5 separate regions of the Homo sapiens genome follow, and regions 2, 3, 4 and 5 are each linked to region 1. Evidence: promoter capture Hi-C in 16 types of primary human blood cells and fetal thymus (Javierre and others, 2016). All regions are on one chromosome and are shown on one strand. Each heading gives the region's core, a stretch centred on a gene start or on the middle of the fragment in contact. The rest is flanking DNA. Distances are from core to core; before and after follow the strand shown.

Evidence for each region. Contacts are between HindIII fragments. The CHiCAGO score rates a contact against its expected background, and 5 or more counts as called.
Region 2: a contact is called between a fragment that was not itself captured here and the fragment with the promoter of HCLS1 in region 1, in 2 of 17 cell types (total CD4 T cells and total CD8 T cells). The highest score is 10.7, in total CD4 T cells.
Region 3: a fragment that was not itself captured here is called in contact with the fragment with the promoter of HCLS1 in region 1 in 1 of 17 cell types (monocytes); the score reaches 5.1 in monocytes.
Region 4: a fragment that was not itself captured here is called in contact with the fragment with the promoter of HCLS1 in region 1 in 1 of 17 cell types (monocytes); the score reaches 6.3 in monocytes.
Region 5: a contact is called between a fragment that was not itself captured here and the fragment with the promoter of HCLS1 in region 1, in 1 of 17 cell types (total CD4 T cells). The highest score is 5.3, in total CD4 T cells.

Annotation. Positions count from the first base shown.
Region 1 is chr3:121,659,533-121,665,057 of GRCh38, forward strand. It overlaps HCLS1 (hematopoietic cell-specific Lyn substrate 1), which reads right to left and starts at 1,371. Exons shown (of 14, transcript NM_005335.6): 1 at 1,288-1,371. GOLGB1 (golgin B1) reads right to left here. Exons shown (of 22, transcript NM_001366282.2): 21 at 5,394-5,499; 22 at 3,669-5,082. The coding sequence ends at 4,948. RefSeq lists enhancers at 1,214-1,403, 1,594-1,643. The HindIII fragment of the contact is 5,970 bases long and covers 1-2,168 here.
Region 2 is chr3:123,578,476-123,583,888 of GRCh38, forward strand. It overlaps HACD2 (3-hydroxyacyl-CoA dehydratase 2), which reads right to left. Exons shown (of 7, transcript NM_198402.5): 2 at 3,737-3,854. Among named protein-coding and RNA genes, the nearest start is that of HACD2, 3.9 kb to the right of the region's middle. The HindIII fragment of the contact is 1,246 bases long and covers 3,490-4,735 here.
Region 3 is chr3:122,691,734-122,697,786 of GRCh38, forward strand. It overlaps PARP14 (poly(ADP-ribose) polymerase family member 14), which reads left to right. Exons shown (of 17, transcript NM_017554.3): 4 at 568-810; 5 at 3,693-3,929. Among named protein-coding and RNA genes, the nearest start is that of PARP14, 14 kb to the left of the region's middle. The HindIII fragment of the contact is 7,781 bases long and covers 1-6,053 here.
Region 4 is chr3:122,784,719-122,790,951 of GRCh38, forward strand. All of the region lies in intron 1 of HSPBAP1 (HSPB1 associated protein 1), which reads right to left. Among named protein-coding and RNA genes, the nearest start is that of HSPBAP1, 6.0 kb to the right of the region's middle. The HindIII fragment of the contact is 3,559 bases long and covers 1,582-5,140 here.
Region 5 is chr3:123,203,332-123,209,405 of GRCh38, forward strand. SEC22A (SEC22 homolog A, vesicle trafficking protein) reads left to right here. Exons shown (of 7, transcript NM_012430.5): 2 at 5,868-6,068. The coding sequence starts at 5,887. Among named protein-coding and RNA genes, the nearest start is that of SEC22A, 4.4 kb to the left of the region's middle. The HindIII fragment of the contact is 3,731 bases long and covers 233-3,963 here.

The DNA of each region.
Region 1 (5,525 bases), core at 121-2,620:
CTCCATCTTCTCCATTGAGCAACCTCTTAAAAACCAGCCCAGGGGAAGTCTGGGTAAATCAGTTAAAGAGATGCTAAGGGGACACCGGAGAGATATTGACTGAGTCAGCCGGGAGTCATGGCTGAAAGCAGCTTGGCTTTCCCTGATGCGGTTGGAGACAGCAAAACATCCTTACTACCTGCATCCTTACTACCCCTCTGCTTCTCATCCCCTGGCTCCTGGGCTGCTGTGCAACAACAAAAGGACTGTCACACAGAAAACTGGAATGGAGAAGTTTCTGAAATAGTCATGAGCAATAAGGAAGCAATGAGGACTGATGGTCCCATCCTCCTTCCTGTGGCTCCTCTGAGGCCTCAGCCTGACTCTCCCATTCACCCATTTTTGAAATAAAGAGTTTCTGAAATAGAGACAATTTATCTAATATCCTTGACCTATTGACCAGAAACCAGAAAGGTAAGAAGTGCTATCTAGAGGTGAGAACCAGAGAGTAATCTGGTGAGGCCTTGTTGCGATGCTGACCTCCTGCATCAAAGTACACAGACTGGGAGTCAGAAGCCCTGGCTGTCACCCCAGCTCTGTGACTAAGCCTCTGAGGGACCATCACAAGGGCATCAACAGAGTAGGTACTCATTTGCCAGGTATCAGACCAGGCGATTAAGAAATACTAACTTTAATAATTTGGCAAATCAGCAATTATCTCTGATTTTCCCAGTGGAAAATAATGAAGGGGTTAACGTAGCTCATCTGTGGTCTCCTTGATTTCTGACATTCTGAGATTCTGTGATCTACGAACACAGAAACTAGCCCCAGCAGAACAATCATGCCTTCTCTTGGGCTCCATCAGCACTTGGTACTCAGTGCTAGTGTACATCAGTGACTACTTCCTGATCTGTTACATTTCCTGTGTGGGTTTGTTTCCCTGAGACCATATGCTCTTCAAGGGCAGACACTGTTTTCGTCTCCTGTGGTCCTCCTCCCAGCTCAGTACCTAGGGGAGACAGGCCTTAGAGTGGGTTGTAGATTGTCAGCAGAAACCAGGCAACACTTTGCTTGATGTTGGTGCTAGATGGCTCCTGAAACACTTGCCTTGGGTTTAAGCCCCTCCCTTTTGTTTCTATCTCCAGATGCTGATTTGCTACAACCACTCACAACCAGGCCTTCTGGCCATAAAAGGATAAAAGCCTACTAGTGGTGACCTTGCCCATCACCAAGGACTAAGAGCCAGGTAGGTTCCTCCTCAACTCTTACTCTGTGTTTCCCAACTGTCCCATGGCTCAGAGTACCCACCTCCACCTGTGCAAGCCTCTGTTCTAAGCGCCCGGCTCCTCGCGTCCACACCGACTCCCTCTCTGGCTGCTGCCACTTCGGAGTGAGAAACTGAGCTGCTGCTTCAGTTCCGTATTCAGGTTTTCGTCATTTCCTGCCACCCCATCCTCACAGCTACTTCCTGAAATTTGAGTCAGTTCCTTCTGCTTTAGACACTTAAATTTTAAAAGGATTAAATGTTTCTGTGCCTGGTCTTTTGCAAGGTTTTGACAATGGGGGTCATAGAGCAGTCATAGAAAATGCTGCTTTGACTCTGAGTTTGTAATCCAGTGAGAGAAACAAACATTCAACCAGAAAACACATTAGAGAATGCTGTAGAACAGCATTGTGTCCTAAATAGGGTGGCAGTTACATTTGAGACAGTAAAGGAATTCAGAGCATTTGGTATTGGGTGTATTCATCAAGAAAGGCTTTATGGGAAAAGTGATTTATATGTGGGTTTTGAAGCATAAGACTTAAAAAGAAACTCACCCCTATATTACCCACAGCACTTAAAAGTGGAGTTTTCATATAGATGTTCAAATAAACGTCGACCAATTGAATGCCAGAAGAGAATAACTCATGAGGGAAAAGGCAAGACATGGAAGGAGAGTTTCCTAGCTTGTTTGGGGCACTGTGGAGTCTGAGCTAACAAACTAAAGATTTGGCTCTAGAGCGTAGGAAGAATTCTGAAAGAACCAGGTGCTGGTCAGCTGATGGAAGAAGGTCTTTGTGGTATCCTGTTTTACTGCGTGTCAAGACTTGCTGCCCCTCCCTTCCCTCTTGAAGTCAGACTTACTCAGGTGACTTGTTTTGGCCAGTGACAGATACCACTTTCTGGCGGAGGCCGTAAGACCACTGCAAGCTTTGCCATGCTTTCACCACTGCCCAAGGCAACCTGCAATTCTCCATATTGGCTCCTCCAGCAGACTGGGTCCCTGAGTGAGAAAGAACACAAGTGGAGCCCCATCCACCATGTGGGGGAATTGGAGTCTTTCACTAAAAAATAGTCCTTTGTTTTGGCTACTGAGAATTTGAGGGTGTCTGTTATTGTATCTGACCTAGCCTTTCCTAATCTTGATTGTGGACTTCTTGATTTGTTCACAACGGTGCATCCTCCAAGGAGTTTAAGCAGGACTGGATGAAACTGGCCCATGATACAGGCACTTTTCTGCATTAGGAATATGAAGCCTCTGTCACTTCCAAATCTAAGGATTCTATGCCTGGGGGAGCTTTATTTATTCCTTCTACTTTATTACCTATTTATCATGGTGGTACCAAAGTTATGATAAGGAAGAGTACGTTTGTACAAGAGAAAAATCACTTGGAATCCTCATGTAGTGTCAAAATACGATTTAGACTAGATGATGTGACACACCATCCAGGTACATAGTTCTCTAGAGAAAATATAGAAATTAATCAGAGATGACACCAAGAAGTCCCATCTTTCCTTAGCAAATGTCACAAGTTCATTACTGATGAGGTAGTGAGGTGTATCACACAGAAAAAGAATGGGCCTTGAAGCCAGACAGACTTGGTTCAATTAAACCACTTATTGTACTTTGAGAAAGTGAGCTATCTTCTCTCAAGCAGCAACTTAATATAAAAATCCATAATAGCTGGGCACGGTGGCTCACACCTCTAATCCCAGCACTTTGGGAGGCTGAGGCGGGTGGATCACAAGGTCAGGAGTTTGAGACCAGACTGGCCAACACAGTGAAACTCCATCTCTACTAAAAGTGCAAAGATTAGCCGGGCATGGTGGCAGGTGCCTGTAATCCCAGCTATTTGGGAGACTGAGGCAGGAGAATCGCTTGAAACTGGAAGGCGGAAGGTGCAGTGAGTTGAGATTGTGCCACTGCACTCCAGCCTGAGCGAAAGAGTGAAACTCGGTCTCAAAAAAAACCCAACAAAACAAAACAAAACATAATAATGCCTATCTAACCTGCTACATGCTATTAAGCTTCTCTTCTCCCATTCCCACCCAGAGGGATCCCTAGGGGCCTAATGTTTTCACTATGTGCCAGACAAGAGTTCTCCCAGGACCATGCATGGACCTGCATCAATTTCATGCCCTAAGGCCCAGCTTATTTGGTTCAGTATTAGGATAGAATTTCCTCACTGCATTCATCACCTGGGGTCTAGCAGCTAAGGCTGGAAAAATGCATGCAGCTGTCACTGATATTGGCCAGTGAGAAGAAAGCCTGAATATGTAGAGCTTTCTACCCCTATAACCATTCCTGGCTACCTCCTTTCCCTACTTCCCTTACCCACCTTCCACCCCCCAGCATGCAAACACAGGTACCGAAACACCTGTGCACATATCCATTCACTCACACGTACACACACATACACACAAACTCTTCATTCTGAAAATAATTTTATTATTTTACAGTTGTTCAGGAAACTTCCCAGGATGTTGTAACCAAGATTTAATCACCACAGTAGATTTAGAGCAGATCAGTCAGCCCACTTGTCTTCTCTCTTCTTTAGGGAGAGGCTAGGCAGTGAACACATCACGTATGCAATGAGAAAATAACCAACTGGTAGGATGGGGGAGGGGAGGGGAGGCAGGGAATAGGCACAAATGGAATTCTATCCTGGCTGTCCTTCTCAGGTCTATCTATATTTAATTTTGTCTTCTCTATATTCTCCTTCCATTGCCACAGAGGGCAGAGACAATGGGGCTGAGAAACTGTAATAACTGTCACTAACAGCAAAGTAGCTTAGTACTTCAAGAGGTCAGGAGTTGCAGTGTGGTGTTAGACCAGTCAGACTCCTGGCTGAGAGTCAATGCCTAATATTGGCTCCCAGTGGCCCCTGAGCACTGTCTCAGGGTCCACATTCCAGGAATATTCAGATATTCCTGGAATGACAAGAATTGGAACCCTGCTGTCCATAGACACTTCTCCCTGCCCTTTGGTGAAAGGAAAGACTTGGGCCACTTAATACCTTAGTATACATGTGATCAAGGGCAAAAGCAAAGGGATTCTATCCTTATAGTCTAAGACCTGAAATTCTCCCTCCAATTATATCTGAAATTGGCAGGGAAGAAGATGCTGTCCTCCCATGTGATCTAACAGCTAAAACCCCTAGGGAGTTCCTTCAGCTTTCACCACCCTATTCTGCAAGAGACCTAAATCAGATGTCCTATGAGGTGACATGTTCATTTCCCTGAACTCTGTTTATGGCAGAGCCACCTTCCCCCTGAAACAGGAGAAAATACAGGCAAACAAGGCAAAGAAAGTTATCAATCAAAATGATACTGAACTTCAGATTATTAGGTTTATTGAAACCATCCTCTTGGCTTGGCTGAAAGACATTCCTCAGTATCTTTTACAGGACCACAAAAGATCAGGGTCCTGCAAAATCTCAACAAATATTAGGCTCAACAAACCAAATGTGATTCTCAGATTAAGCAGAAGCGTTCAGGCTCAGGGCAGTAGAAGAAAGCAGACTCGCCAGTCCCTGCAGCTCCAACCTGTCCTCGTATCCACCTCTGTTTTTGCAGGCACTTTCCGTGAAGAGTTGGAGAGAAGACCTGTAAATGGGAAGACTGTTCCACTGGAATTGATGTTCTGATGTTAGAGGTGAGAGAATTCCAAGTTTTGAGGGGAGTGGTCCAAAGAGTAACAACTAAGTCTATAGATGGCCCGTAAAACACAGAATGAGCAGGACATGAATCATTAGAAAGTAGATGGCTGCTAGAAGTGGCACTCGGGTCCGTGAATGACAGAGTGAACGCAGGACTCGCTTCCATCCAACGCCACTCCGGGTCTGAAAGAAAAATGTGAAAGTCAGAGAGTTTTCACCCTATAGGGCTATGTTGCTTTCCCTCCTACTAGTCTTGCACTTAAGCAAAGCTGACCCAACCACTGTAGAAAGGGGTATTCTGAGAGGAAAGTTGCCTCAGAGTCAACAACTTGGCAAATTCCACCAGGTTCTAATCTTCCACGCCCTTCCAGCCTTAGACTCATTCGCTGCTCAGTGGCTGGACTTCCACATTCCTTCTCCTCAGCTCCTTGCCCCCAGTATAGCCAGCCCTGTCAGATAATAAAACACCCTCTCTTTATCCTTCTTCCTCTTACCCTTCGACAACTGTTGCTTGTAAGATCTATTAACAGTGCCTGCTCCTGAGTGCCACAGGAGCCAATGATAGGAGTCCGGGAAGAGTCCCATTCACTGTGCTCTAACCTGAGTTGAGAAAAAAAAGAGGCATA
Region 2 (5,413 bases), core at 2,863-5,362, 1.9 Mb after region 1:
TCCCAGGATGGTCTTGAATTTCTGGCCTCAAGCAATCCCCCCATGTCAGCCTCCTAAAGTGCTGGGATTACAGGTGTGAGCCATGGTACTCAGCCAGGCTTCCTTTTGTACCTTGCTACTACATGCTCCTTTGTACTTGCTTGGTAAATGTTTTTATGTCTTTTAAAAAGCAAAGTGTTATTATTTTCTTAAGAAGATGTGAAATTGGAGAACAAGTAATTTCGATTTCCTTTTTAAGTAAACTCCCACAGAACCTAATAAAGAATAACATTTAGCATAAAGAGATATAAATGAGTAGCTGCCTTCCCTGGATTCATTTTCTCCTCCTGTAAACAGGATATATGTCAACACTAATAATTCCCATCAGGATAACTTATGTGTAATTAAACAATACCACACACATCTAATTATTACACAGTGTAGATGGGGTAGGCAATGAAAAACTCCTCAACCACAGAAATTGTGGTTTTAGCAAGCCTGCTCTATCGCCCAGTCCAAGGGATTACTTCCATCACTGACCTTTGCAACGTTAATTGCCTGCATGTTCCTGGGAGTCTTCACTTCCTTATGCACAGACATTTTCCCAAAATCAAATCCAGGATTTGTCACTTAATTGGTTCTTAGTGGGGATAACAGAGATAAAACCAAAAATCCAAGATATTTTCCTAAATCCCTATTAAAAATTCTATAAGGATAAACAGGCTAATCCTTCAAAGTCTAAGACTTGGTTCCTGAGTGGATTTTAAAGTATGACACTGTTTAATGTCCCTACCTTCCATAAGATATACTTAAATTTTAAAAATTATACTTCTAACATTACCAAGTTTTTTTTTTTTTGAGACAAGGTCTCACTCTGTCATCCAGGCTGGATTGCAGTGATGCAATCATAGTTCGCTGCAGCCTCAAACTCCTGGGTTCAAGCTCAAGCCTCCCATTTCAGCCTCCCAAGTAGCTGGGACTACAGGTACCCACCACCCAGCCCAGCTAAAAAAAAAAAAATTTTTTTTTTGTAGAGATGAGGTCTTGCTATGTTGCTCAAGCTGGTCTCGAACTCTTGCCCTCAAGTGATCCTCCTGCCTTGGCCTCCCAAAGCTCTGGGATTGCTGGGACTATAAGCATGAGCCACTGTGCTCAGCTCTAATATTATGATGTCTTAAAGAGATAGAAACCCCTTTAAATTATTGAAGTATTCCAAATGGGGACAACCCCCTACTATATCAAGTACTGGAAGTCTGATGGTCTTGACTCCAAATTTGCTTCTCTGTAGCTTGTGGGAACTGTACTGGCCAAGGTTCTGAAAGAGAAAGTACTACTTATTTACTAGTGTCCGCTTCCAAAAAAAGTTCAAGCCTCTAAGTTTAAAAAATGGTTCACATTAGGATTTGTTAAAATTTCCTCACACTCAAATTTAGGGTAGTAAGGGACTTTAGAAATCTACTTTAACCTAATTATTTACAAATGAAAAGGAGGTGGATACGAGAGAAAAGACTTGCCCAAATCTATAGAGTCAGTTGGGAAAACTATTATACTTAAAATAAAAAGGTACTCAGGCTTCCAGCTGGAAGCTCATTTCATCATACCACCTACTTAAAATGCCTAAGTTTGGACACTATTGAAATTCCTCTGTGTTGCAGTGAGCCGAGATCCCACCACTGCACTCCTGCCTGGGCAACAGAGTAAGGCCCTGTGTCAAAAAAAAAAAAGAAAAAAGAAAGAAAGAAAAAAAGAAATTCCTCTGCCTTCTAAGAGAAAAAAACAAAAGCAAAATGGATAACTTTCTGATCTAGAACGTGAGAGTGAATCCAGCCTGGGAAACACAGCCAAACCTCACCTCTACCAAAAATATAAAAATGAGCCAGGCACGGTAGTGCACGCCTGTGGTCCCAGCTACTTGGGAGGATGAGGTGGGAGGATGGCTGGGGCCTGGGAAGTCAAGGCTGCAGTGAGCAGTGATCACACCACTGCACTTCAGCCTGGGTGACAGAGTGACCCTCTCTCAAAAAAATAAATAAATAAAGTGAGAGTGGGCTGGGTGCAGTGGTTCACGCCTGTAATCTCAGTGCTTTGGGAGGCTGAGATGGGAAGATTGCTTGAGCCAAGGAGTTTGAGACCAGCCTGGGCAACACAGGGAGACCCTGTCTCTATGAAGTTTTAAAAATTATCCATGTATGGTGGTGCAAGCCTGTGGGCCCAGCTACTCTGCAAGCTGAGGTGGGAGGACTGCTTGGTCCCAGGAGTTCAAGGCTGCAGTGAGCCACGGCCATGATGGCACCACTGCACTCCAGCCTGGGCGACAGAACAAGACCCTGTCTCAAGAAAAAAAAAAAAATTGAGAATGAAAGGTAGAGGTATCACACTTCATTTCATGAGATAAAGAATTTTTTTTTTTTTTTTTTTTGAGACAGAGTCTCGTTCTGTTGCCCAGGCTGGAGTACAGTGGCGTGATCTCAGCTCACTGCAACCTTGCCTCCCAGTAGCTGGGACCACACGCCCGTGCCACCACACCCGGCTAATTTTTGTATTTTTAGTAGAGACGGGGTTTCACTGTGTTAGCCAGGACGGTCTCAATCTCCTGACCTCGTGATCCACCCGCCTCGGCCTCCCAGAGTGCTGGGATTACAGGCGTGAGCCACCGTGCCCAGCGAGATAAATGATTTTTTCTTAAGTATCATTCCATAGTTCAGGTTTTAAAAGTTGCCAGTAAAGTATAAATGTTATGATGGTCTTGCCTGGAGGCTAAGCAAAATGAACCAGATCTTCCCTGCAATCTGAAGGTTTTTCACCATAATGAAATATACGAACTATGGCGGCTATTGATTTTGTGTGCCCAAAGCTATCCCCATCCCTCTTTTCCATAAGCAAAGTCTATAGTCCCTTGGACAGAAGAATGGGCATGTGTCCTAAGATTGGCTAATCAAGCACCTCACATCACTGGCATAGTCTAAGTAGGGCCAACCAGAATCCTCTCTGGGAACTGTGTGACACAGATGCTGCGAAAAATAAACACCCTCCCTGTTTCCCACCATGTGGAGAGCCCAAGACCAACATTCAAAGAGAAACAGACAAGCAGAAATGAGAGAAAGCAAGAGAATCTGGCAGTGTCAGCTCCTTGGTTCTCATTCCTGAGCTAGTTTCTTTGTAAATTAATCCTGTATCTGTATCAACTACAGAGGCCAGAAAATTCCTTTTTTGCTTAAAATAGTTTGAATTGGGTTTTTGTCCCTTGCAATTCCAAAATCCTAATCTATACTTACCCCAAGAGAGAGGGCTGGATATACATTGCCCTTAATGCAGGGAAATCAATACATTTTTGTTAAATTTTTAAAATTTGGACGCCTCTAGACAGGCTCTCTATTATGTCTTCTATCTATCACTTCCAATATCCTACACCCACCAACTTCACTATTTCTATTACATAAACCCTGAAAGCATCTGATTTTGCCAGTGCTTCCCCAGGATGTCCCTAGAATTTTTAAAAATCCTAATATAAGCTTGCTTCAGTTGATTTCCCAAAAAAGTCGAATATAAAATACATTCAAGGTAACCTAAGTTAAATGAGATTCTACCCAATCTAGAACATCAAAAAGCCTAGGTATCAACACTTTAGTATGTGAGGAGGCAAAATTTCAAAATTTAACATGAATCCAAAGGGGGTATGCTACTTCAATATAATTTAGTTGCATGTTTTTCTTCATACCAATGGAAATCAATAACAACAATAAATCTCAGGACCTACCTCCAATAAGGCTCCAGTTTGAAAGAATTTCAAAGGCTTTTCAATTGAATAATAAAGGCTATGGTAGCTACCCTTAGCCAGGTATGCTCGGACCAGACCAACCGCTATAACCAGCCACCTAGTAAAAGAGAAAACAGCAATCAGGAAAAAATAAAAATAAAAAAAGTAGCATTTAGGTTAACACACAGCTGTGGCAATAAAAGATATTGCTAAAGGTGACCTCAAGCATGAGTAACCTGGATTTATGGACGATAGCTCTCAAATGCCAAGCTGTAATGCACTGAAATGTTGCAACACCGACAGCACCTTACCAAGAGGGCTCAGTGAAAGCATAGTGGCACCTCACCCATCTGGAGCTCATTTTTTTGGCAACTTTGCTATTGAGATCAAGGCCAAAAGGAAAGGAATAAGCTAAAATGGTCCTTGTGCCACTAAATCAGGTGCCAAGAAAATCTAAGACGAGAAAAAAACAGTTAAAGGAAAATTTTAAACAGCCTGTGCAGTTAAAGGGTTTTTAATAATTACAGGGTGGAAAGAAGATGCTTTAAACTATTGTTATAATTGTCTCACTGGAACAATTACCCATACCTTAAAATCTATCCTTTTAAAATTACGAATAAAGGGCTCTTGCTAAAAAAAAAAAGTTTTTTAGCCAAATTTCCTAAAATCAATGCAGAAATGAAAGCCAGATCAATACAAACCACGAAACAGGAAAGCACTTAAGCATACAGCTGTGAATGTTATATTTTTGTTCCACTGTCCTTCTCAAAAATAAACACAATGTTTTGTTAAGTTCCATAATAAAACAAATGGACCTTTTTATTAAGGTATGTCTCCTGGAAGGATTTAGATAAATGTATAGTATCAACTAGGCAATGGGGTGTGTGTGGTCTATGCTATTTCCAAAAACTATCACATAAGGACATCAAGTAAGAGTTTGTAAAAGAAGAAATTATTTAATGGTGTAACTGGTACAACCATTAACAGCCTTAAAAAAAAAGCTTACTTTGCTCTCACAATCCCAATTTATCTTCCTGGTTTAAGATACCACTCCTTACCCTCCACCCCATTCTCTATGTTCATTGCTCAGGAATAGACTTCTTTCTTCTTACCAATGTACCTCAAAATCCCTCTCCAGTCCAATGCCCTCACCGGCTCTTGCTAAGACAACAAGAATTTTATATATAAATATTAATACACACAGTGAGATTCCTGGATGTTTTTTTAAAAATCAATCTATGTGACCACTGATGTGATATAAAGCTTGTATCTGTACTAGTTCTTCATTGACCTGTGAGTCAAGAGAAATGATTTCTAGATCTGGAACTTCTACTAACAAGTTCTATGATCTCATGCAAGTCACAACTTCTCTGAGCCTAGGTTCCAACACCTACCATTTCTAATACTAGCAATACATATATGATCCTCCCACGATATATTTTCTTCTTCGTGAAAAAAAAGCAAGGTGCTGAACTGTAAAAATATTAATATATTGGCATTTGTCTTATTTTAAAAAGGGATAGGGGGATGTATAAACATATTTGCTTGCATCAGCATCTTAAGGATACACAAAATTAACTGCCTCGAGGGAGGGGAGCTGGGTAGAAGGGAAAGGTGGGAGGAAAGATTTTCACTGTATTCCCTCATGTTTTTCATTTTTAACCCTAACAATGTATC
Region 3 (6,053 bases), core at 2,630-5,129, 1.0 Mb after region 1:
ATAATTTTAGTCTGGTGCTGTGCTAGAAATAGATATCAAGTGCTAGGAAATATAAGGCAGGTTCCTCAAAAAGGCCAGGCAGAAAAGGGTATAATAAAATTAAACTTCAATTATGTATAATTTTAATATAAAATTCACATATAAAAATAGTCCTATAATGTAAATTGTTCTATAAATGACTATTTACTTAGCTAAGTAATGTGAATATTTTTTCTTATCACTAATAATTTTGGACAAATTTTTAAAATTCATTTCCACAGAGGTTAATATATGTACCCACCAGCAATAAATGAAAATCTTTTTATCCCTATAATGCCTATAATCTTGAAAATACAGACCTATTTTGTCAAAATGAAAATTTAAAAATATGAATTTTAATAATAGGCAATTACATGTTACATGTTGTTTTTATTTAAATAAAGCAAAAAGCCATCCAAGGTCTGTTATTCTGTGAGTTAGCCAAGAGATTGGCAAGGAGAGAGGGCAGTGCCTTGTGATAACTTACTTTGCTAAGACCATGGTAGATAAGTATAACATCTTGTACCTCTTTTGTCTTCCTAAAATCAGATGTGTCAGAAGAATTGGATACAAAACTCCCTCTTGATGGTGGATTAGACAAAATGGAAGATATCCCAGAGGAATGTGAAAATATTTCCTCTTTGGTGGCATTTGAAAACCTCAAGGCAAATGTGACTGACATAATGCTAATCTTGTTAGTGGAGAACATAAGTGGCCTGTCTAATGATGACTTTCAAGTGGAAATAATAAGAGATTTTGATGTTGCTGTTGTTACCTTTCAAAAGCACATAGGTAAGATGAAGTGACACTTCCTCTGCCTGTCTTCTTTGTACCACATCATGAGACTTGAGATACCTCTTAGGGGGACATCTCTGAAAGTTTGACTCTTTCTAGTAGCTACTAAGAGAGGTTTCCAAGTTAATATAGTTTTTTTTATTTTGAAAGTGAAGCATATTCATATTGAAACCAAATTCCATATTTTTAGTAGAATTAACTTTATTGCAGGAGTGCCCAAGTGTGTGTGTGTGACTGAGAGAGAGAGAGAGACAGGCAGAGAGGGTAAGAAAGTGCGTGAACACAGCAAATAGACATCTGAAGTCCAAGTGATTCCAAGTACAGGAGTCGGCTTTTTCACATGTGTTATCTCACTGGGTGAAGTAAATATTTGTATTACCAAACTGGACTTCATGGAAGGTAATGATAACACACTCTCATAGAGTGCTTACTATAAGCCAGGTGCTATGCCAGCCTCTTTACGTGTATTAATTTATTTGTCCTTTCCAAAACCTTATGAGATTATTATTATTGATCCCCATGTTACAGTTGGGGAGACAAAACACAAAGGTGCGAATGCATGGATGAACTGGGTTTGAACCCAGGCAGCCTATCTCTACACCTGTCCTCTTACCTCTTTACCTGATATGTCCTTAGCACTTTCATGGTCATTCACATATGTAGGTATGAGTAAGTGCGTGTGATGCAGACAATGAGTGCTCTTTAAGGTAATTGTCAGGAATCTGTAGACAATCTCTGAGATTGGGAAGAGAGCTGTCACCACCCAAAACAAGTACATTTTCCAATTCTAAGCCTTCACTATTCCATGGCCATGGCAGTGGAGCGGTTAAGAGCACAGGTCATGGAGTCAAAATTCCAGCTCTGCCATTTAACTAGTTATATGAGGTTGGCCAAGTTATTATCCTCCCTATGCCTCACTTTCCTCATCTATAAAATGGTACAATAATACCTACCTAATATAGTTTTTGTAAAGATTGAATGAGATAATGTTTGAAAAGTACTTAACATAGGGCCAGGTGTAGTGGCTCACGCCTGTAATTCCAGCACTTTGGGAGGCCAAGGCAGATGGATTGCCTGAGTCCAGGAGTTTGAGAGCAGCCTGGGCAACATAGTGAAACTGCATCTCTACAAAAAAAATACAAAAATTAGCCAGGCATGGTGGCGCACACCCGTCCTCCCAGCTACTCAGGAGGCTGAGGTGGAAGGATCACTTGAGCTTGGGAGGCAGAGATTGCAGTGAGCCAAGATCATGCCACTGCACTCCAGCCTGGGTGACAGAGTGAGACCCCGTGTCTGAAAAAAAAAAAAAGAAAAGAAAAGAAAAAGAAAAGTGCTTAACAACTTAACGTAGTACCTGAGACGTAGTAATGACTGAAAGGGAGCTATTCTTATTTCAAATTTATTACTGTTTCTTACAAAGGAAAAACTAAATGGACTTGCTTTTGTTCATCGATCAGAATCTTGAATGCTTAATATGTGCCAGGCACTGGTCTAGGTGCTGTGGGCACAGAGATGAATAATCAGGTTCCTGCCCTTGAGAAACTCATAGCCTGGGGTCAGGGAGGAAGCCCATATGTAAACAAATAAAGAAGGTCCAAGAGAAGAAGCTGTCTCTAAGCTGTGAACAAAAAGCTGTGGGAAATGGGAGGAAAGGGACCCAAACAAGGTGGCTTGGTCTTGCTTCTGTGAAGTTTATATTCATAATGTCCAGAATATATTCCATCTGCTTGACATAGATCTTTCCCTATCCATCTGGTAAACCCCTCTTCATTGTTCAAAACCCAGATCAGAGCCACTTACTCTGGGAACCATTGTCTGATTCCCAGTATTAGTCTTCCCACCTCATTTGATCCCACAATAGGCAATTTATTTGCTCTCAAGACTTGCTCCCACATGGATGATGCACTGGCAAAGATTTGTTATATTTATTTCTGTATCCTCAGATCCTAGCACAGTGCCTGGCACATCGTGGGCCCACCATCAATACTTATTATTATTATTATTTTAAGATAGAGTCTTGCTCTGTCGCCCAGGCTGGAATGCAATGCAGTGGCGTGATCTCAGCTCACTACAAGTGATTCTCCTGCCTCAACTTCCTGAGTAGCTGGGACTACAGGCGCGCACAACCATGCCTGGCTAATTTTCGTATTTTTAGTAGAGACGGAGTTTCACTATGTTGGCCAGGCTTTTCTCGAACTCCTGATCTCAGGTGATCCGCCTGCCTTGGCTTCCCAGAGTGCTTAGATTACAGGCATGAACCACCACGCCCGGCCAATACTTATTATTAAAGAGACAATTGAGTTGAGTCCTAAAAGATGAATAGGATCAAGACAAAAACTAGAGAAGAGCATTCCAAATGCAGGAAATTGTATACACAAAGACCCTTTCAAGGAGAAGGGGTTTTACAAAAATAATGACTAGTTTTTGTGGCAACACGGACAATAAAATGAATGGCAGGGAATAACCGAAGGTGATGCTTGGAAATTAGTTTCGAGTCACATCACCAAGGGCATTGTACACCTGGCTGAGGAGTGTCAACGCTCATACCTGCAGGTAATGGGGAGCCATTGAAGGGCTTGAGAAAGGGGTGAAATGAGATTTGTAGGGAAAACCCTCAGGAGGGTTGGTGAGGTCTGGGGCAGGAAGTGGGGACACAGCTCAGTGGCAGCAATCCAAGTAAGACATTCGTGTGTGTGTCGCCCAGCGACTGGGAGTTTTAGGTATGTAAATTCTCATGTAGGTATTAAAATCTTGTGTCTAAAAATGGAGTGCTTAGCTCTTCCTTTTATTTCAATTAGTAGCCAGACATTTTCTTCTATACAACATAAAGATACAATAAAAATTTACTGATTTTCTTTCTTTTTTTTTTTGGTTTGTAGATACTATAAGATTTGTTGATGATTGTACCAAGCACCATTCAATTAAACAACTTCAGCTTTCTCCAAGACTTCTGGAAGTGACAAACACAATCAGGGTTGAAAACCTGCCACCTGGTGCTGATGACTACAGTTTAAAACTTTTCTTTGAAAATCCCTATAATGGAGGGGGAAGAGTTGCCAATGTTGAATATTTTCCTGAAGAGAGTTCAGCTCTGATTGAATTTTTTGACAGAAAAGGTAATATTTATTAACCTGTCATACCTGGCATAATCTAGGCCATTATTAGCAGAGCTTAATAGTTATAAATTTAGTTCTGATGTGTTTTATTTGTTTATTTATGTATTTCTTTGGGAATTGAATAAATAATCCTGTTCATCTGCGATATGATGCTTAATAAGGCCAGTGATTCAGACTTTAGAGAAGCAAAATCAAGTTTTTGAAAGATATAAGGAGGTTTTTTCATGAGTCTCTACCTATGATGGGCTGAAAAATATATTCTTGGGATCTTTGAAATAATATATTAAAAAGGAGATGATCTGTGTTTTAGCCACACACTTGATAGAAGCTCTCAAATTAATTATGACAAGGTTAGGTAAAGAAATACTCAGCAACTCATAGAGTTCCTATAAAGTACCACTCCTTTCACCTATTGTATCATCATTCAAAAATGGACAGGAGTGGTTTCACATGACCAGTGGATGCCTGCTGGACTATTGTTTGGAGTGACCCTGTGAAACCCATGTCTAGCTGAACCTTAGAGAAACACTTCTGAGTGTTTTGTGATATAGACTGCCAGTTCTCTGAGGCATATGCAAGGTCAGCTTGGAGGTTCCACTTGTGTTCAGAAGTCAAGGCTGAGCAGAAGGAATTAGGGGGCCAGGCTTCTTGGGAAAAGAAGGAAAACTGTGCCTGGGATTAATCAGGGTGGGGCATGACATAGGATAATGTGGTATGCCACCCACTTGAGAGAAGTTGTTTCAACAAGGTACTTGAAGGAACCTCCCTTTTCCCAACTCAGTTTTCATGTGTTGGGAAAACTGGATGAAAGTATGGTTTGAATTAAAATGGAATGAAAGACCTACTATTCCTTGGGCAAAGGGACAAAGAGGAGCTTCTGTCACATATTCAAATCTCCCTCTGCCTGGTCTTGGGCCCAGGGAGAGAGAGGGGTACATAAAATCCTCTACCCTAGAAATTAACCTCCCAGTTTGTGGTGAGAGTTGATATTTTCAGGGCTTTCAAACATCTTTAGGGCATGGGGCTGTTGGGTTTGTCCTCAGAAGGGCTATTCTGCACATATACAACTAATGTTAAGTACTATTTAATTAAGGTTTATTTTCTGCCAGAGCTATTCATGTAAACTCTATGAGGCACTCTCAAAGGTTCCCTTTCTCCCTGATCTCTTTGCACCATCTAACTTTTTTGACCACACCTCCTCCTCCAAACTCACTCATTCTCTGTCCTCCACCATCTGTGATTTACTGACTTTCTTTTATGTTCTCTAGCTTCTCCTTTTTATTTTTTATTTTCATTTTATTATGTATTTGAGACAGGGTCTCACTGTCTCTCAGGCTGGAGTGCAGTGGCATGATCATGGCTCACTGCAGCATCAGCCTCCCCAGGCTCAGGTGATCCTTCCACCTCAGCCTCCAGAGTAGCTGGGAGTACAGGTGCATGCCACCATACCCAGCTAATATATTGTATTTTTAGTAGAGATGGAGTTTCGCCATGTTTCCCAGTCTGGTCTTGAACTCCTGGGCTCAAGCAATACTCCCTCCTTTGCCTCCTAAAGTGCTGGGATTATAGGCGTGAGTCACTGCACCCAGCTTAGCTTCTCCTTCTTTTAATTTTAACTTACATTTGCATAGCTTCGCAGGTTATTACCAAGTGCATTCAGACAGTCTTATGGGCATCTTGATTGTTATAATCCCTGTTTTGCACATGACGAAACTGAAGCACAGAAAGGTCCAATAACTTGCCCAAGATTACACAGCTAGTGAGTGACATAGTCAGGATTTGAACTTGGGTATTCTGGTCCCATAACATATACCCTAACTTCTCTCCTCTTTCCAAATCTCCTGTTCACCTATAACGTTAATTTTTCTTATAGGATATTTCACCATTCACAATGGGTTGCCAATAATGAGGCAGATGGTAGATAGAGCTTGGTTTAAAAGAGAATTTATTGTACAATATTGTGTTTTATGTAGATTTCTTGAAAGGAAAAAATTAGGCATTTTACTGTAAAATTATTTGGTTCAACTTCACAAAATCTGTTTTATTTCTTAAGAGAATTTTCATTGAACACCTATGTCTGTAAGATCTTTTGCTGTTTTTTCTGCTACAGTATCTCACAATCCC
Region 4 (6,233 bases), core at 2,111-4,610, 1.1 Mb after region 1:
GGTGGGAGTCAGATGTAGCCAAAAGACTGAGGTGTCTAGACTTGGTGACTTGCCATAAGAGAAGTCAGGAGCAATAGCTCATTCTTTTGGGAAGATGAGTAGCTTGATTTTGAACACAGGCATCATAACAATACCATACATTTAACTGTTTAATGCTTCACTGTTTACAATGCACTTTTACAGACATTAAAAGTGCTCATGTGATCTTATAAGAAGCCTGTAAAACAGGCAGAGACGGTAATTCATTTCCATTAATTGAAGGAAGAAATGGAAGCTTAGATGTCAGAGGACTGGAACCAGATTTATCAGGTCCCCTCAGTCCAAGTCCAGTGCTCTTTCCACTGCACAATCCTATTTCTAGAGAATTGACTGTGTGATTTAACTAGGGCTAAAAACTCAGAAGAAAAAATATAACCTGAAAGGATACACAGGAAAGCTCAAGATCAATTCATAGATAATCATTCACATGTGCTCCAGGGAGAGAGGAATGTTTTGAGGAGTGCATGAGTGTATGTGCACGTGCACTCATGGCAGGGAGTGCTAGTTGCCTGTGACAAAGACTCTTTGCTTGGCCAAACTTTAGTCAGGCTTTAATTCTTCTGCTAGGTCCATCTATGCACTTCCTTGTAAAACCCAGTTTTAGGAAAGAACCTTGCTAAGTCAGTTTAGCAAGAATTGCCCCCATCCCTGATATCTGATCAGGTTCTTCACCCCCAGCCAACCTCCAGGTGGTATCTGATCACCTTGGCCTGCCTTCAGCAAGAATCCTGTTAGGTTGGTTTTTCCAGATTTCCCCTTACCCCTGATGTTTCCTCTTAGTAATTTCTTATCCACTGACTCTGCTCCTTGGCTGTAAATTCTCACTTGCCCATGCTGTCTTTGGAGTTGGGCCCAATCTCTCTCCCCAGCTGTGGGACCCCGTTACAGTAGTCCTTACATCTATGGTGATGGTCCTGAATAGTCTTCCTTACCATGCCTTAACAAGTGTCACTGAATAATTTTTTATTTAACTTCTACTTACCCAATACTCATTCTCTTCTTCCTTACTAAAGAACTTTGGGCAACAGGACTGACTGAAAAATTTTATTTCCCAGACTTCTTTGCAGACAGGAGTAGCCAAATATAGATAGATAGATAGATAGATAGATAGGGAATATATATCTATAATTTCCATGTGTGTGCGTGTGTGTGTGTGTGTGCACGCGCGCACATATGGAAGTTGCGAGTCAGCCTTTTTGCCCTCATCCTTTTCTATATACTGCCTGAAAAGCAGACATGATGATTAGCCCTCTTGAGAGACAAATGAAAGGTCCAGGAAATCGCAAACCTTAACCAAAAGAATGCAAATATGTTCATCTTTGTGCTACTGAACCAACTACTACCTCCTGAATCCTTTTAGATTAAAAAAAAAAACAAAATTCCTTCTAGTCTAGACTGTTATTAATTCATAGCTGGTATAACACCTTGCTTTCTGAGGCCATCATTTTCAAGGATAACCATATTCTCCCTCTACACTGTTCTGTGGCTTGGGCTGGATGAATCATGGCTGGTCTGACACACTGTAGCATTCTTTCAGTTCCAAGCTTGTAAAATATTCAACCTTTGAACATTTTGCTTCTGGAACTTTAAAGGGCAGAGAAAAACAGAAGCATGAGTTACTTTGGGGTAGCGATTTATTTATTCTACTTACCTTACATTAGAGCCAATAGATCACATGGCTTTGATTATTCCCAAAATGGTTCATACTTGGGTAGATATAACTGGGTAGCCTTCTATAAATATGGACACAGGCGACAGTAACACATGAGTAGTATTTTGACAAAAAAGCTATAAAGAAGTAAATATTTCTTCTCTAGCATAAAGTTAAATTTAAAAAATGTAATTATCTGATCTAAAAATCCCACACATCCCAGAGATTATTTAATAGGAGACCTCCAACACTAAAATTTGCTGAGAGAGTGCCTGGCCTAGTGACTGGTATATATTAAATGCCAAAACATTTGCTAAATGAATGAGAGCACTATGAAGTGTGTGCAAAGCAGAGTAGCAGGATGTTCACCATAACAGGAAATTAGCATATTTACAGAATTTCAGGCCCATCGTGAAATAAAACAATCAGCTGGTTGTGAGATAAAACTAATTTAGCTTCTGATAATTTAATCAACAATAAACTGGGCCATTAAATTAATGAATTTAAATGTTACAATTTCCTTTAAAGAAGAATGCAATGCTACCCTGTATTAGTTAAACAGCCTATGGATGCACCCAGTTATTCCATGCTAATAATATTTTGCAAAGAGCTATAAAAATTCTGAAGCAACCTCAACAGTCTTCAAAGGATAAGGGTATTTAGGTCTAAACTTGCAGCAGGTAGTAATTTTTAACTAGATGATTTAGAAACTACTGAAAAAAAACAGATTAGTGATCTGGGTGTTACCCAATAGTTTTTTCTCTCTCCAAATGTAGGATGTTCTCCAGTCAATTTATTACAGCCTGAGTTGCAACTAATTCTTTGGAGATAGTGAAACATCATCAAAAATAAATTGCGTCCTTCTCAGTAATTTTTTAAAATTAATGTAAAGTACAAGATAATTTGAAACCTAATTTCTCTGAGAACGCCAACTATCTGGTGTCTGTCAATTAACACCTGGCCTGGATTTGTATCTGAGATTTAGACTTTAAGACAAGAATAAGGAACATTTACCATGTGTCCAGGACACTCCGAATATTAACAGAATATAACAAAAATCTTGAAATTGAAATTAACTTGTCTCTCATCAGATATAATTTTAATGAAAAAATTAAAGATTTTTAAAAACCTTTAGAAGTTGACATAAGAGTAAGTCACACATTACACTACAGAGAATCACTATAATGATACAGCATGAATTTAAAACTGGGTCCTGGCACAGTGAGATCATTTATTTCTGAATGTATACATCTAAGTGTATATATGGTGTTTCATCAAACAACTATTGTATATACATATAAGAAAGTTTAAAACCTCTGGAATGGTAGATATTAGGGCAAAAAATAATGACCATTTGGGTCATGTTAGAAAAACCTGATGGAATCGTGCAAGTACTATCTGACAAAATTACTGGATTAGTACTGAAGACTGAATGGTAAAACTTACACCAAAAAGAATTTTTCATTTTGTAACCACTATTTTAAAATGTCAACACAAACTAAGAAAATTCTCCTGAAAGGTAACATAATACTTAAGTACAATGACGGCTAACCATAAACCCTTTGAATTTCAAGGTCTAGAAGGTGATGTCTATCACTGAAAAAAACCCACAAACATTAGTGCTGCGGCTGTTATGACCTAGCCTTATCAATACCAATGCTTGGTGTGGCAGTAAACACACAGGAAGTTCAGGCTGGGCACCTGAGACAGTTACATCCTGGACACTTACCAAAGGTTCATGAGCCTTTTAGCTTCTTTCCATCCTCCTACACTTATAAACCCTTGTTCAGTTAACCCAGAAAACTTATCTTTACCTCAAAAAATGGCTCATAAATTCAAAAGTAATACTAGTCTCAAACCAAAGCAAGAAAAAGGAAATCTGTCTATATTTTAAGTGAAGTTAACACTAGAAGGAATGATGTCTCAAATACTAAAGGTTTTTGCAACGTACCTCCAAAATTTCTACCCAAATGTTTCCATTGAACCCCAGCCTCCCCAAGTGAATTTTCGATAATTTAAAATAAATGATTATTTTATCTTACTTTTCCTCAAAAGTATTCTACAGTAAGGTCTTGAAAAGACATCTGCACACCCATGTTCACAGCAGCACTATTACAATAGCTAAGTGGTGGAAGCAACTCAAAGGTCTGTTGACGAATGGATAAGCAAAATGCTTACACGTGCAATGGAACGTTATTCCGCCTTAAAAAGGAAGGAAATTCTATCATATACTACAACATGGATGAACCTTGAAGACAGTATGCTAACTGAAATAAGCCAGTCACAAGAAGATAAACACTATATGATTCCACTTATATGGAGTATCTAAAGTGGTTAAATTTCTAGAAACTGAAAATAAAATGGCAGTTACCAGGGACTGGGGGAAGAGGAGAAAGGGAAGTTATTGTTTAACGGATACAGAGTTCCAGATTTGCAATATGAAAAAGCTCTAGAGATCACCTTCACAATGTTGTGTACCTACCTAACACTACTAACACTGAAAAATGGTTAACATGGTAAATTTTATGTTATATGTTTTTACCACAATAAAACAAATGGTATTGTTTTTCTGATACTCATCAATACCAAGCATTCAGTGAAATTAAAAATTTTATCTACATTATGAATTACATATGGATTCTAACATGGGAATTTTTTACTTTTTGAGATAACACAGACTTTTGCTTTTCTTTAAACTCCTCCACCCTTTGCCCCTTTTAAAAATGAGAACAAAAATGACATGGTGAGTACGGGTCTCCAACTGAAAAAGATAAATCCAGTTATGTAGGAATGTTAGTTCTAAGTGAAAATCAATTCCATACAACTCTAGATGAGATATTTCCTCAGAAAGCACTGGAAGAAGAGTTACTAACACATTCTCCTCTTTATCAAGGAATAATCTTGGCTATAACTAAAAACTAAAAAACAGCCCAATAGAGAGAAATATAATAACCTCAGTTTGAAAGATAGAATCACACTCAAATAACTGCAATTTTTAATTTCACTGAATGCTTCAATCTATGTATGATTCTGAGAGTAACATTTCACATTCAGAATTTAAATTAATTCTTAATTAACAATAAGTAGTTTCATGTTTGTTTTTAATTATTTCTAAGCTGTTATTTCAAACAAACAATATCACATTCTTGAAGGCAGACCTCTTACTTTTATCTCCCTAGAGGTTAGTCCAGTGCCTAGCATAAAATGATGCTAAACAAATGTTTCTTTCAAATAACTGTATAAGAATACCTGATTTTTAGCAATGTATAAAACTTTATTGAAACTAAGCACTTGTTTTCTCCACTTCTGTAGAATGAGCTATCAAGCATAACCAAGGTGATTAGTTCCACGATTTTATGCTCACCTCTACCAGTTACCCTTTCCTGCTCCCAAGCACTGACTCACTCCTATCACTCCTAATCACCCGCAACCCTATGGCAATCATGCCAAAGCTTCTTTTTTTTTTTTTTTTGAGACAGGGTCTGGCCCTGTTGCTCAGGCTGGAGTGCCATAGCACGATCTCAACTCACTACAACCTCCGCTTCACAGGTTCAAACGATTCTTGTGCCTCAGCCTCCCAAGCAGCTGGAACTACAAGCGTGTGCCACCATGCCCAGTTTATTTTCGTATTTTCCGTAGAGACAGGGTTTCACTATGTTGCCCAGGCTGGTCTCAAATTCCTGAGCTCAAGCGATCTGCCTGCCTCGCCTCCCAAAGTGCTGGGATTACAGGCATGCACCAGCATGCCTGGATGCTTCTTCACTCTCAAATCTCCAGTACCTTTCTCTACTTCCTTACTTTTGTGGTACCTTGCTCTATTTTTCTGCAAAGACTGAAACCCATGATTTCCCTCTTCGTCACTTCAGCATTTCTGTTTTCACCCTGCTCTTCTCTGGATTCAATGGATACAAGTCTTCCCCTTTTTCACCCAGGTTCTCTGTCATTATTTCTACTTTAGTAGAATTGGTATCCTCACCTGGCTCATCTTCAAGAAATTATCCTAGGAAGCACAAACCAACCCAATTTCTATTAGTTCCTTCTCCTCTCAGCCTCCAAAGTACTTAATGTGTATCATATTGAGTATCATATCCCAGCTAATTACATCTGACCTTTAGGATATGTCTTATACTACTGTTCTTTTTATCTATGTCTTTATTGCCAAAAATGATATTTATAATTATTTTGGGGCAAAGATTGTCTTTTGCTTTACCACATGAAAAAGGTCTGTTTACCATGTGCCATTCAAATATTTTTTGATAATGGAATAAGTTTGCTCAAAAATGAACTTTTCAGCTGGGCACAGTGGCTTATGCCTGAAATCCCAGTGCTCTGGGAGGCTGAGGTGGGAGCATCACTTGAGGCCAGGAGTTCGAGACCAGCCTACGGAACATTGTGAGACCCTGTATCTACAAAAATAAAAAATAAACCAAAAATTTTAAAAATGAACTTTTCTATGACTCCCATTGTATTCATCATTGTACTGAACATACTGACCCTTTCACTTGACTTTATTTAATGTATTTATTTTTCTCATTCTCTTACA
Region 5 (6,074 bases), core at 848-3,347, 1.5 Mb after region 1:
GAACGCTTAAATGAGGTAATGTGTATAAAGTGCGTGGTCCATGGAGAGTAATCAATAAATAATACAGCAAATATTTAATGTAGTGCTTTTAGCATGTTACAAGGCAATGTTTCAGGCACTTTACATGATCCTATGAGATAGATACTATTGTCATCTTTAAAACAAGCCTATGAGATAGATGCTATTAGTAGCCACAATATATAGATGTGGAAATTGAGATATAGAAAGGCAAAGCTTGTCCAAATTTACATGGCTGGTAGATGGTGGAGCCAGGATTAGAACCCAGGCAGCAAGTGAATAGATAGTTTCTATATCCCTGGTTTCTTGTGTCTTGTTGGTTTTGGGAGACTGATGAAGCATAGTGATGTAGAGATACTAGAAACTTAGACCGAAGTACCAGTTCTGCTATATACTAGCAGTGTGACATTGAGAAAGTGAGCCTTAGTTTCCTCATCTGTAAAATGGTGGTTTTACCTACCCAACCGTGAACTATGTGGCACTATAAAAATGTTGGGATTGACACATTTGAGCATGTATTGGGGGCCCTGTCCTAGATGTGGGTAAAATCTGTTGTGAAGCCTGAGGTCTTATACATACTGTGCAGTGCAAGCACCCATAATAGGAATGTCGAACACTGCTAGTGAGGTAGAAGGCATAGGCAAAATGGCGGAAATTCCATCCCCTTTATCACCCACTCTATCCCCCACCCTCAGCGAGCACTTTTAATAAAATAATATGTACCATATTGGTATTGTTTCCCAAACTTTGGTACTGTCACATATGCAAGATAATTTGATAAGCAAATGAACATTAAAAAATTCTCCCCAAATTTTCACACACATACATATTTGAATGAAACAAGTTCATTTAATTTAAATTAGGAGAAAAACTTAACATCTCAAAACTGATTTCACAGATATTATTGCTAAAAAATAAAGGACAAGAAAAGTAAGTCAATTCAAAGACCAATATTAGGTAAATAGTACAGGTGGATGAAGATAATTCTGAAAGTGGTACTTGGATGACTGAAGACTGGGAAGTTATGAACTAAAATAAATATGAGTGCTTTTGCCCCCAGTATAAAATGTTTTTATCTTAAAAGTGGCATTTGTGAAAGCATTTGGTTAGAACGTATATACAAAATCCACTTACATGTTGGGCTTTGTTTATTACCTTTTGAGAGATAACTTCCTGAGACATTGAGCCTGTAGTCATTACCCCTACAAGGTTCTGAAGAAGAGGGGTGTCTTATTATCTTGGGTCCAGGAACTTGCTAACCACTACTATAGTAGTTTGGCATTGTGGGAATTTATTTTCCTCAGCCTTTACATAAAAGTTTACCCAGATTTACCTAGATTCTAGCTTGTGCTTTTTCCTCCAACAGTTGCTGATGGGGAGAGGAAAAAATAGCCACTATTCAGGTTCCCTGTGAGTTAACTGCTGCTGTACAAAGGCAGGTGTAATATTTTCTCTGTATTAAAGGTGAGGAGAAATGGCCCAGTGCCCTAAACATTTATCTATGGCCCCGATAAGCTAAAAACTCCTAAATCTTCCCATGCAATTGTTGTAATCTCTTGCTTTCCACAGTTCCACTGGTTCTTCCTTGGGATTTTCCCAACCACAACCCTCCTTAAGACCTTAAAGATACTTTAACCTAGCTTAGGCCTGACATGGACAGATTTCCTTTTCTGCTAGCACAGTCCAGATAAGATTAGTTTAAAAAAAAACAAACTATATTATGAATCCGTGGTAAAAAGAAAAAAAGTAGGGGTATGTTTATTGAATTGATGGAGAGACAGCTTAGCCTAAGGTGGTTGGAATCTGTCTACAAATTAGTTAAGCCTGACGTTGATCATTGGACATTCATCCCCGTTTGTCAGGCTTAAATTCAAGTGCTTTGGATGCTGAATCAAATTACTGTGGTAGAAAGAGGTTTAATTTTTTCCCTAAGAAAAATCTTATCTATGGATAAGTAGAAACCATTCTCTGACAACCTTGTAATAATTTTGACAGGGAATGTAACTACTGTGTTCTGCTTTTGGTTAAAGGCTAAAGTACATATTAGGAAAATTTGAGGCTGGGCGCAGTGGCTCACACCTGTAATCCCAGCACTTTGTGAGGCCGACGCAGGTGGATCACTTGAGGTCAGAATTTGAGACCAGCCTGGCCAACACAGTTAAGCCCCATCTCTACTAAAAATACAAAAATTAGCCAGGCATGGTGGCGGGCACCTGTAATCCCAGCTACTTGGCAGGATGAGGCAGGGGAATCGCTTGAACCTGGGAGGCAGAGGTTGCAGTGAGCCATTGCACTCCAGCCTGGGCAACAGAGTGAGACCCTGTTTCAAAACAAAACAAAACAAAACAAAAAAACAACAAAAAAAGGAGTATTTGAAATGTAAGTTTGTCCAACTTTAGTTTTCCAGTTAGTGAAGTGGTGGGCAACACACCTGCATTGTTTGCTCTTTTCAACTGAGTTTCTCTAATTGAGGAGTGATGTTTCTTGATGGTAGGACTCTTCATTCCTGCTATCTGGCATAATTCATGGGACACATTAGATATTCAGTAAATGTTTGGTAAACGAATGGAACTTACAAATTGTATTCTTTTTACAGTATGTGTTTTAGAAAGCATGGATCATATATTTATTGATCTGTCCTCCAAGTCACTAAAGAATAACTTTGAAGACTACATGAAATTTGGCAACCTATTAATGAAGTCTATTCATAATATTTCTATTAGGATCCTAGAGAGGCCAGACATAAAATAATACAGTCTACTTTTATTTTACTTTTTGAGACAGGATCTCTCTCATCACCCAGGTTGGACTGCAGTGGCACAATCATAGCTCACCATTGCCTTGAACTCCTGGGCCTGCTTCAGCCTCCCCAAAGCAAGTACTATAGGCGTGTGCCACCATGCCCAGCTGATTTTTAATTTTTTTTATAGAGACAGAGCCTCACCATGTTTCTAGGTTGGTCTTGAACTCCTGGCCTCAAGCAGTGTTGGGATTATGGGTATAAGCCATGGCACCCCATCCAATCTGCTTTTAAATACTAAAATGTGGGTATTTAGAACTGCAAGTTACAACTCACCCTCAAATTAATTCCCAGAATGGTTATTGTGTTGCAGTGTACTTCTGGAAAGACAACAGTTTTATAGTTAAATAATAAACGCTTAAGGGGATAGAGTAAGACATTTTCCTACTTTCTTACACTTAGGCTAAATGTTACAATTGTGATTTAATAATTAAGTAAAACATGGTAAAAAAAAAATTAAAGAGGGGTTTATAGTATAGATATCTCTTCAGGGATCCCAACTTTTTCATGCTACTGCTTTTAGGAGAGAAAAAAACTAGATGAATGGAAAAAAACACCAATTGGGATATGTCACACTGGGACTTCAGTTTGAAGACTCCACTGTAGTAAAAAGACTAATTTGCTTCTGGATATTTTTCTCTTTAAATGAATGGAGAGGCTGGGCGTGGTAGCTCATGCCTGTAATCCTAGTACTTTGGGAGGCTGAGGTGGACAGATCACTTCAGGCCAGGAGTTTGAGACCAGCCTGGCCAACATGGCGAAACCTCATCTCTACTGAAAATACAAAAATGAGCTGGGTGTTGTGGCGCATGCCTGTAATCCTAGCTACTCGCGAGGCTGAGGCATGAGAATTGCTTGAATCTGGGAGGTGGAGGTTGCAGTGAACTGAGATCGCACCACTACACTCGTCTGGGTGACACAGTGAGACCCTGTCTCTGAAGGAGAAAAATATTAAAGGGTAATGACACAGTAACACCTAGAGATTTCTCCTTTTTCCTCATGAAAAGAGGAAAAAGGGATAGTGAACTTAATGCATTAGATTTATTAGTTGGGTTAATTTTTATTGTCAGATCAGTTATCACCATGAATGGGAAGTCATATTTTGACTTCACACAGCAGTGAAAACTATCAGCTCCTGATTTACAAGCTTTGTAACAACTGGTTTTCTGTGGTATTTTTTTTTATATATATTACTCATTTTTTCCTTTTTGGAATGAGATAATATTGACCTAGATTAAGTGGGCAGGTAAGGATTAATTTAGTCTCTAAGATACAATATTTTTGGAAAAATGCCTGTGAGATTTTTATCAGATTTTTGAATTTTCACCAGTTGCCTCACCACTAGTGAGGAAGCCTTTAGTGACATTGTGCTTTGATGGCCTGACAGAGAAGAGTTATCACTTAATCTTAGATAGTGAACATGTTTTAATTTAATGTTTTAAAAAGTATGGGCCTTAGACAATAAGCAAATTGTCAAGCCCTATCCCACAGTCAGTGGTTCAGAATTTTGAGGGCAGAGCTCAGAAATCTGCATTTTTAACTAAACTTTCAACTTCTTATGCAAGCTAAAGTTTGAGAGCCACTGTGTATTTTATGAAAGGTTGAGTGACTGTTGACCTGAGTTCCTTCAGACTCAGGCCTGTGAAGTCCTTTCATCTGTTTTTGTAAAGCAAGAAGAGAATCCAATAAAATAGGCCATTAAGATTTACTTTCTGGTAAAAAGATTGAGAACAACATTAAAACCAATATTCCTTTAGCTTTAGGATTTATTTTAAATAATTTTTTTCTGATTATAAAAGTAGTATATGTCTACTGTGAATATTGAGAACATTTAGGAAATTATAAAATAATAATAACCAATAATACCATTTCTTAGAGGTGAGCATATTCTTAATTTGGCATCTTTTTCTGCATCCGTTTTTCAATCCCTTTTTCCTTCTCTTTATCTTCGTCTCTTTATCCTTATGTTTGTGTAAAACAACATTTGCAATTTTTATCCTACTTTTTTCTCCTTAACATGTAAGCATTTTACCACATTATTAAACTTTCTCCACAAACATAACTTTTAGTTGCTGCATTATATTCTGTTATATGAATATACTATAATTTACTTAACCATCACCATTTTATAGGATATTTAGATTGCTTTCAGTTATTTGAGTGGAAGAATGTCTTTCTGTTTAAAATTTTGCCTGGATTTCTGATTATTTTTCTCAAGACAGGTATATATTTAAATTTATTGAGGTTAAAAGGTATGCCTTCAGACTCTTGTTGAAATTGCCAAATCATTTTGAGAACTGTTTGTACCAGTTTTTACTTCCATCTGTACTTATGAGAATGCCAGACAGAAGTATTATTTTTTAAAAAGCTAATGTGGCTGGGTGTGGTGGCTCATGCCTGTAATCCCAGCACTGTGGCAGGCGCCTATAGTCCCAGCCACATCCTATGCTGTGGCATGGGAACCCAGGCTGAGGCATGAGAATTGCTTGAACCCTGGATGGGGGATGTTGCAGTCAGCCAAGATGGCGCCACTGCACTCCAGCCTGGGTGACAGAGCAAGATGCTGTCTCAAAAAAAAAAACAAAAAACAAAAAACAAAAGCTATATGTTAAGTGAAGCATAGTATGTTGTTTTAATTAGTTTTTTGTTTTTTTTTTCCTCCTGAGACGGAGTCTCACTCTGTCGCCCAGGCTGGAGCTCAGTGACGCGATTTCGGCTCACTGCAACCTCTGCCTCCCGGGTTCAAGCAATTCTCCTGCCTCGGCCTCCTGAGTAGCTGGGATTACAGGTGTGCACCACCACGCCTGGCTAATTTTTGTATTTTTAGTAGAGAAGGGGTTTCATCATGTTGGCCAGGCTGGTCTCAAACTCCTGATCTTGTGATCCACCCTCCTCAGCCACCCAAAGTGCTGGGATTACAGGTGTGAGCCACCACACCTGGCCATTTTAATTACTATTCTTATATTACTAGTAAGTTGAACATTTTTACATATGCTTATCAAGTTTGGCTTTAATTTTTATGTAACCCAAATTGTTCATTTTGTTTTAGGTCTTCTCTGTTGGTTGAAATGTCTATGATTTTATCTGCCTCAGTCATTCGTGTCAGAGATGGACTGCCACTTTCTGCTTCTACTGATTATGAACAAAGCACAGGAATGCAGGAGTGCAGAAAGTATTTTAAAATGCTTTCGAGGAAACTTGCTCAACTTCCTGATAGATGTACACTGAAAACTGGACATTATAACATTAAGTAAGA